Regions from separate parts of the Homo sapiens genome. Here regions 1 and 2 are each linked to region 3. The links are contacts of gene promoters, found by promoter capture Hi-C in blood cells and fetal thymus (Javierre and others, 2016). All regions are on one chromosome and are shown on one strand. Each heading gives the region's core, a stretch centred on a gene start or on the middle of the fragment in contact. The rest is flanking DNA. Distances are from core to core; before and after follow the strand shown. Region 1 holds the start of HYKK (hydroxylysine kinase). Region 2 overlaps IREB2 (iron responsive element binding protein 2). Region 3 holds the start of IDH3A (isocitrate dehydrogenase (NAD(+)) 3 catalytic subunit alpha).

What was found. Contacts are between HindIII fragments. The CHiCAGO score rates a contact against its expected background, and 5 or more counts as called.
Region 1: a contact is called between the fragment with the promoter of HYKK here and the fragment with the promoter of IDH3A in region 3, in 1 of 17 cell types (naive CD4 T cells). The highest score is 5.2, in naive CD4 T cells.
Region 2: a fragment that was not itself captured here is called in contact with the fragment with the promoter of IDH3A in region 3 in 1 of 17 cell types (erythroblasts); the score reaches 5.3 in erythroblasts.

What each region holds. Positions count from the first base shown.
Region 1 is chr15:78,505,910-78,508,857 of GRCh38, forward strand. HYKK (hydroxylysine kinase) reads left to right here and starts at 1,668. Exons shown (of 5, transcript NM_001013619.4): 1 at 1,668-1,762. The HindIII fragment of the contact is 14,973 bases long and covers 258-2,948 here.
Region 2 is chr15:78,483,162-78,486,071 of GRCh38, forward strand. It overlaps IREB2 (iron responsive element binding protein 2), which reads left to right. Exons shown (of 22, transcript NM_004136.4): 11 at 157-273; 12 at 1,600-1,759; 13 at 2,544-2,679. Among named protein-coding and RNA genes, the nearest start is that of HYKK, 23 kb to the right of the region's middle. The HindIII fragment of the contact is 2,229 bases long and covers 444-2,672 here.
Region 3 is chr15:78,148,015-78,150,972 of GRCh38, forward strand. It overlaps IDH3A (isocitrate dehydrogenase (NAD(+)) 3 catalytic subunit alpha), which reads left to right and starts at 1,348. Exons shown (of 11, transcript NM_005530.3): 1 at 1,348-1,416. The coding sequence starts at 1,390. LOC124903534 (a long non-coding RNA gene) reads right to left here and starts at 1,205. Exons shown (of 2, transcript XR_007064725.1): 1 at 1,094-1,205. RefSeq lists a silencer at 1,308-1,887. The HindIII fragment of the contact is 1,572 bases long and covers 1,132-2,703 here.

The DNA.
Region 1 (2,948 bases), core at 418-2,917, 360 kb after region 3:
GAGAAAGACCAGTAGAGCTGGAATAATGACAGGTGGAAATAACTCAGAAGCCACTCAAGGCAAAAAGCATGCAGAGGGGCCTAAGGGAGCCAATAGGATTCCAATTCTGGTTACAGAAAAATCCAAGTCAAAATCACTCTTTGACAATCTAAAGGAATGAGATATTAATTATGTTCCCCTGGGGTTGTGAAAAACAGCCCTGCCTTTTGGAGATTAGAAGTGAAGCAGGTAAGAACCATATCTAAAGCAGGAGAAGAAGCTTCCCTCAGTAGGTGGTTGATAGGGGTCTGGGAATCATCCAAGTTAATCAGGGTGACTATAGATAATCCGAGTGTGTTATATCCTGACAGAAAACAAAGGGTGGATGTGCATTGGCAAAAACAAAATAAGAAACCAATTTGCAGGCATGAGTGGACCAGTACCCAGGACTCTCTTCCAGTAGCCTACAGTAGATAGAGGGCTCTGACTTATCGGAGAAGTCCTGCTTGGCTGGAGAAGGGCATCAAGCTGTTTATCAGCGCCTCATGCCCTTAACAGTTAAGACCATCCAACTAACCTGGCTGTTACTCCATGAATCTCGTGCAGCTTTCTGAAAATCATGGGGTCTCTGCGGACTTTCCTGCAGAAAGAGAGCCCACTGATTCCACTACCTAGATAAAGGCGTGGTGGTGGGCCCCTGTAATCCCAACTACTCGGTGTAAGAATTAAAGAAAGAGGAAAGAAACACGAAAAGTGGCTTGGTGGTCATAAGAGGTTTATTTTAGAGAAAACCTGAGAGGGGCGTCTGGCCAAGTTAGGTCAGAGGCACACTCTCTTACAGACTAAGTAAGTTTTTAAGGATTCGGAGTGGGAGAGTTTATCAGAGGCTTGGACTGCTTCTGTGTCTCTTTGTTGTGCTTATCTCGGAGGGAGAGTTGTGTGTCTGTTCCCATACATCTTTCTGCAGCTGCAGACATACCCCCTGAGTCTAATTTTTGTATTTTTAGTAGAGAGGGGTTTCACCATGTTGGCCAGGCTGGTCTCGAACTCCTGACCTCAGGTGATCCTCCCGCCTCGGTCTCCCAAATTTCTGGGATTACAGGCGTGAGCCATCTGCGCCCTGCCTAAACTGTTCGGGTTCTAACATTCCAGCATCCTCCTGCGGAACGCAGCCAGGCCTTACTCAGGCCTTCCAATCAGGACCCTTACAGTTCCTGGGGCTGGGATTGCGAGTCTCTCTGGGGCCACGCTTTCTAAGCGTATCACTTCCAGGATACGTGCCTCCAACAGAAGGAATGAAGGCTAGGAAACAAAAACGTGGATGCGGGTGAGGAGCTGTCAGTGTTACCGCCACGACAACGTGGACCCTGCGAAACTCGGAGGTGCCACTCAAGAGCCGAAAGCCTGCCCACTCGGGGTGGGGCGGCAACCCGGAGAGCCAATCAGGAATAAGGAGTCCGGTTCATGAAAAGGTAGCCGGATTCTGACTGGGATACTCACTGTGAGAAGGCTGGGCGGAGTTGCAGAAAGTCAACAGAAGCCGAATCTCTGAATTTCTGTTCGCAGCCTCCTAGGCGGGGCCGGGAAAAAAATCCAGTAGTCTGCGCTGACTGGGCGGCGAGGGACCGGGAGGAGCCAATCAGAAGTCAGGACTCGCGGGGCTTGGAGGAGGGGCGCGGGCGCTGCGGCCCCTGCTCTACCTCCTAGCGCCGGTGCGCGGCCGAGGCCGCACTACCTGTCTGCGGGAAAGCGGGATCCACCCCAGGACGTCGGGTCGCTGCCGGTGAGCCAAGGAGGGGGAAGCAGAGACGAGCCCTGCGTCCCCGCTGCGGGAGTCGGGGTCGCCCCCGAGGGCAGGGAGGCTCGCTGCAAGTGTGGAGCCGGGAGTCCTATGCCTCAGGCTCCTCCAGCCCGCGCTATCCTCAGCTCGCTGCGTGCGTGATGGGCAAGTCACCCTTCTTCCCGGACCTCACCTGTAACCTAGGAGGGCTGAGCTGGGCCCCCAGAATGAAAGCGTGGCACCCGAGAAGCTGTCGAGGCCAGCCCTCCCGGGTCTGTGTGGGGTCGCTGGCCGAGGGCTGTGCCGGCGCCTGGCCGGTGTCTACTGGGAGCAGTCTCTGAGCTCCGCTGAACCTCACTTACTCATGCGCCCTCCTCCTCTCTTTTCCTGCCTCTTGGTTCAGCAGCCCCTCTGCAGCCCGCTCACCCACCACTTTTTCCCCTTCACCCACCAGGAAGACCCTTAAAAGCACCTAGTAATGCACTGTTGTCTTTGAAAAACTGCAGATGCTAGATTCCCCACCTTTCTGTTTCATGATCCCCTTGGGGTTGAACTGCCCCGTGAGTCTGTGGAATGAAGGTCACCCTTGGTTCACCATTTAATATTAAATAAGGGACTAGCCTAGGGGCTGAGAATACAGAGATTGACTGGGTATAATCCCTTGGAAGGACGCAGCAAAAGGGAATGTAGGAGAAGAAAGGTAGAGTTGGAAGACATGCTAAGGTAGAATTTACTAGACTTTGTTACACGTTGGGAGTGAGGGACAGGAAAGAATCAAGAATGACTCCTGTTTCTTGTCTGGTATACTTTGCACAAAGTACAGAGCTTAAGTTCCAGCCCCCTCCCGGCTGCAGGACAAAGGTGGTGAGATTCTGACGCAGATCTTGGAGTTGGAAATCACACTTGCTTCCTGCGGGCTTTTTCAGGAGCTAAATACTGTTGGCCGGATATATAGACCAACAGCCTATAGTACCTGAATTCCTCCTCTCCCTTTCAATGAAGTAGGAAAAAAAGTTAATAATTTTTAAAAATGTGTGAGTGGGCAACATAGCGAGACACTGTCTCTAAAAAAATAAAAATAATAAAATCAAAAAGACAGCCATGATGGCTTGCACCTGTAATCCCAGCACTTTGGGAGACCAAGGTAGGAGGATTGCTTGAGCCCAGAAGTTCGAGACCAGCCTGGGCA
Region 2 (2,910 bases), core at 308-2,807, 340 kb after region 3:
ATTTCTTGGGGTTGAGGGTGTATTATACTATTAAAATAAATTGCATTAAAATAAATACGAATATACTTACTCTGCTTTAGAAAGTAATGCTTCAATTGGAATCTGTCGTAAGGAATTAATTCTAATTCCTTGTTCTTTCTCTTTCTCATTTCTTAGGTGATCCAGATTAATCTGAATTCAATAGTTCCATCTGTTAGTGGTCCAAAAAGACCTCAGGATAGAGTTGCTGTGACAGATATGAAAAGCGATTTCCAGGCTTGCTTAAATGAAAAGGTAGGTTACTTTATTCTTATCCGTGTTTTTCAACCCGCTTTGTGCTAAGTAGTAAAGAACCAACAAGGTGACCCATAAACTCAATTCACTGCTATGTTTTATATATTATGGCACACACCAGCAGCCCCCTTATTTTCCTTCTGTCTAATGTGCAAGTCAGTCATTAGGTAAGCTTGTTCCCAGTTCCATTGTGAGGATCAGAGATTGATTGTGTCTATTTAAATTAAAATTATATACAATTTAAAATTGAGTTTCTTAGTCACAGTAGTCTCATTTTTAAATGCTGAATACATATGGGTCTTGTATTGATGAACAGCATAGATAATTGAATAGTTACATCATCACAGAAACTTTTTTTTTTTTTTTTGAGACAGAGTCTCACTTTGTTGCCCAAGCTGGAGTGCAGTGGCACAATCTCGGCTCACTGCAACCTCCCCCCTCCCGGGCTCAAGCGATTCTCCTGCCTCAGCCCCCAAAGTAGTTGGAATTACAGGAGTCTACCATCATTCCTGGGTAATTTTTGTATTTTTAGTAGAGACAGGGTTTCACCATGTTGGCCAGACTGGTCTTCAACTCCTGACCTCAAGTGATCTGCCCACCTCAGCCTCCCAACAGTGCTGGGATTATAGCCATGAGCCACCGCACCTGGCCTACAGTCATAAAATTTGGTAAATGTGACCGAGTAGCAAGTGGTCTCTGGCTTTTGAGGGTTTGTATTTTCTGTCTGAGAATCACAGTTTTAGTCTTGTCACTTTCTCTATTCTGAGATCTCTAGTACTTGGCTTTCCTTTCAGAGCCTTTCTTTTTATGATTTCTTGACTTTTTGTTCAGAAAGTGTTAAACTTGTACAAAAACAAAATAGTCCACTGAATTGCCATGTACCTGTCAATTAGCTTCAATAATTAGCAACTCATAGCCAATCTTGTTTCAGCTATGCTACACTCACACACATAGGATCCCTTTGGAGGAAATCTTCGGGGTCATTTTAACAGAAAAAAATTTCTGCCATCTCTTGAGAATTACTATAAACAGGGATGATTAAGAACAACAAAGCCAAATGAGATCTGGATTCTGGGTGGTAGGCTGGACTCGCTTAGTAGATAAAAGTTTTGCTTGTGAACATCACCAGACTCCTGTCGTGCCCATGCAGATTTATGCTTCAGCTGAATTACAACTACTGAATGTTATGGGCCTTTAGCATCACTCACAAAAAGGATTTTTAATGTTAAATCATCAAATGTCCGGTATCTGCTATGTTTTCTGCCAGTCTTTTATTCTGTACATACCCAGAATATTTAGTTTATATTTTTGTGGAAATTTGTATAGGTTGGATTTAAAGGCTTCCAAATTGCAGCTGAAAAACAAAAGGATATTGTCTCCATTCATTATGAAGGAAGTGAATATAAGCTGTCTCATGGATCAGTGGTCATTGCTGCAGTTATCAGTTGTACCAATAATTGCAATCCATCTGTCATGCTTGCTGCAGGTGGGTTGTGGTTTATGGCCATACTTTTTCTTTTTCCTTAATTATTGTTGGCTTTTCTGTTATTGTAACTTTGTTTCTTAGATGATGCATGAGTGTCTACATTTGATATTGAGAGACTTTCTAGTATTTTAGTTAGGTCTTAAGGAGCCTGAGTTTGATTTATGTTGTTTTTATTACACCGAAGGTAAATTTACTGTTTACTATAACTTACCTGTCAATTAATTTTAGGTTGTATCTGCTTCTCTTGTTAATTTAGAACTATAGTTAATTAGCAGGTATTTCTTGATTATCTAGAAGTTAACCATAACAGTGTGGTAGATTTCATTAAAAGTTATAAAAGTAGTAAAAGATCATTGTCTTGGCAAGGATTGTAAATGAAATTAATTTGTATGCCCATTGGAACAATTCCTTAGTTGTATAAAACCATGTATAATGTGTTACATTGCTCTTATTGTAATTATGACTTTAAAATGGTTTGCTTTAGAAAAAAGAAGAAAGAGAAAAAATGGTTTTGTTAACATGTACTTATATATGTGCACCTTTTGTTTACTCTGTGTGAATGATGTCAGCCTGTATCTTAATAATTTTCAACATAAAGGCTGTAATTTTAAATTTGTTGTAAATGAAGCAAATCAGTAGAATAAAGTGGACAAAATAATGACAGTAAGTTTATGAATTCATACTTTAATCTGTTAAATAAATTACTTCTCACTTTTTACTTTAATATGGGTGAGAGAGGGAAAGAAACATTGCCATAATAAATCATTGTTTGTTGGCTGTGCAGGTCTTTTGGCTAAAAAGGCTGTTGAAGCTGGTCTGCGTGTTAAACCTTATATAAGAACAAGTTTATCTCCAGGCAGTGGGATGGTTACACATTACCTCAGTTCAAGTGGAGTATTACCATATCTAAGTAAGCTTGGGTAAGTAACAGCTATCGCACTTCATATTGATATTGGTGTTCAGTAGGTACTGAAGCTGCTTGTTTGTGCCTTTCATATACAAAGAGAAGATAGAAAAAATATGCTTTAGTTTTACTTGCTACCTTGCCATTACCATACAATTTTTGATGCCTTATCACTCAGGAAACACTTATTGGGCATATCAAATGAGCAAAGCACCAGGTTGGATACACAGAAGTAGGAGATGTGGTC
Region 3 (2,958 bases), core at 98-2,597:
AAGGCCACAGACTTAGCTGCAGTTTATTATTTAGGTCATAAAAGCTCTTGGGATCACTTCTCTACTGCACTCATCACCTCTCTGGGTGGGTAGGCAGCTCCTCTCTGGATAGAACTCTTCCCAGGGTAGGGTAGCAGAGACCTGGTTTAAACACCTGACCTCCCCTGGCACCCAGCTAGAGGCCTGGCCATCAGCAGGAACTCAGGAGTTTGTGATGGACAGGGAGAGGACAAGGGGAAAGGTGAGTATGGATGTTATTTCTTCAGAGAAGCATTCCCTGACCTCCAGGTTAGGTTTGAATCAGGTTGCCTGATTTTGCCTTGCCATAGCTCCTTGCTCTTTTGCTTCTTGGCGCAACAGTTTTAATGACATGTGTGTGACACTTGATTGAAGCCTGTCTTTCCTACTGGACACTAAGCCCCAGCACTTAAAACAGTGCCTGGTGTCTAGTTGACCCTCAGAAATATTTGTTGAGCTAAATAGACAGATTAGTAGTTGCCTGGGATTGAGGACAGGAGCGGGATTGACTATAAACGGACACAAGGAACATTTTCATATGCTCAAAAACTGGATTGTGGTGATGGTTGTGCAACTGTTTACATTTACTAAAAATCATCAAACTGTACACTTACAGTGAGTAAATGTTACTATATATACATTATACCTCAATAAAGCTGGTAAAAAATAAAATTCGGCCAGTCGCAGTGGCTCACTTTGTGAGCCTGGGGCAAGCAGATCGCTTGAACTCTGGAGTTCCAGACCAGCCTGAGCAACATAGCGAGGCCCCATCTCTACGGAGAAAAAAAAAAAAAAAAAAAAAGAAAAAGAAAAGAAAAAACAAAGTTGGGCTGGGCTTAGTAATTACTTGATCCCAGGAGGTCGAGGCTTTGTAGTGAACCTGTTCGCGCTACTGCACTCCAGCCTGGGCGACAGAGTGAGACCCGGTCTCAAAAAAAAAAAAAAAATCAAAATTTGTGGAATAAGAAAATTATGTGTCTTTCTCCACGGGATTGTAAATTCTATGAGGAGCGCTATATCCCCAAGATCCTAGAACATTAATCAGCACCTAGTAGGTGTGGAACAAACGTCTTACCTTAACAGCGAGTCAATGAACCAGGGAGGGGAGGAAGAAGCTTTCCCGGAGATGCCGGCCCCTCAGTTTCCGGGTTCGCCTGGCGCTCAGCCAGGCCAGTCACAGAGAGACGAGCCCGGCGATTCGCCAGCGGAATGTCCAGGGGCGGGGCAGCGAGCGAGCGCGAAGCAATCCTGAGGCGGTCTAGGGGGCGGGGCGTTCAGGGGGCGTGGCCGTGCAGGGGCGGGCTCCGAGCGTGGGGTGGGCGCTTGCGCACTGCCGCTGCGGCTGTTGCTGCGGAGCCAGGAGGGGAAGCGATGGCTGGGCCCGCGTGGATCTCTAAGGTGAGCGCTGGCAGGCCGGCGTGTGGCAGGCAGGCAGGCCGCGAGGGCTGGCAGGAGAGCCGGTCGCGTGCCGGGTGTGGGCGGGCGCGTGGGCCAGACAGGGAGGCGGTGGCTGCCCGCGGGGACAGCTTGGGAGCCGGTCCTGGTCGCCCGTGCCCCGCGCTCCGTGGCCGGCTCGCAGTGTATGGGCCGCCCCGGGCCGGGTCAGCAGCGCAGAGGCGGGGACGGCGTCAAGGTCAAGGCGGGGGGGCGCCGGCCCTGCTCCTGCCGAGACCCGGCTGCCGTCACCCGCATCCGCCCAGGCCAGAGCCCAGGCTTCGCGCCGAGCCCGGGAAGGTCACGGGAGCCTCTGTCCCGGCTCCGCCATCCGGGCCGCTTCCCCGGCTGCGGCCCTGCTGCGGGACTGATCCCCTCAGCACTGCCCACACCTCTCATCCGCTGTCTGCGCGGCCCTTGGCCGGGGAACCGCAGGTGCCACGGGCACTGGCGTTGAGCTTGGGAGGTTTTCCCAGGTGAGAGAATCCGGGGGCCCTTTTCCCTATCAGATTGTTTTCCCTTTGGCGCTCTTCCCAGTCAGACCTCTAGTGCTCTTGTAGCTATTTCCCCTTCATAGGATAGGGCATCTTACACCTCGGAATTACCGTCTGAACCTTCGGAGAGAGAGACCAGCAGAGCCTTCCTTTTACCTTTCATTGGTGGGAATCCTGCAATCTGGAGCGCTTTAGCTCTCCTTGACAGCTCAGATGCCAGAGCTGGAAAGGGTTTCAGATCATCTATGCAGTTCCGTAGCTTCTCAGTGGAACTAACCTGTGCCTGAAGAAGAATTTGCTCAAGGTCACACAGGAGGTCGGTGTCAGAGCAGGGAGAGGAACCTAGGTGTCTTGGTTCCCATTTCCCAAGGTCACATAGCAAATGATGGTACAGGCCATCAGGCCTCAAGTCTCCTGTTGCTATGAAAGGGTGGTCCCCTAGAAATCTATAAACAATTTAACGTTTTTCTGTAAGTTTGATACTACTTTTCTCCCATTTTTTCGGTTTAAAGAGAGGTCCAGAGATGCACTGTTATTTAAGGAAAAGATCTCTGTACTGGAATTTAGGAGTCTCAGATTTAAATCCTAGCAATGCCACTGATTGGCTGTGTGACCCTAAGCAAATTACTAAACATCTCTAAGCCTTAATATGCCCATCTGTGAATATCTATACTTACATCACAGAATTGTTTGAGTATTAAATAAAATAATGTATGTGAAAGCACTTGGTATGTACAGAAGGAAAACAAAAATCTGAAGCTTTCTTATCAATATGTTTATCTGTCTCCAACAGACAGTGGTTTTCATGGGCATCATTAACTGGTTTTTTTGTTCAATAACTAGATTCTACTTTGTCACCCTCTTCAGACCCAGATTTGCTTGTGATGATAACTCTTATGTCACATTTGCTCCTAAAAGTAAAGCAACTTCTGTGTCACTGTGAAAACTGAACTCAGTCCTTTAATCTCTGAACTTACATTTAACACCCAATTCATCTTTGGTAGGTACATTT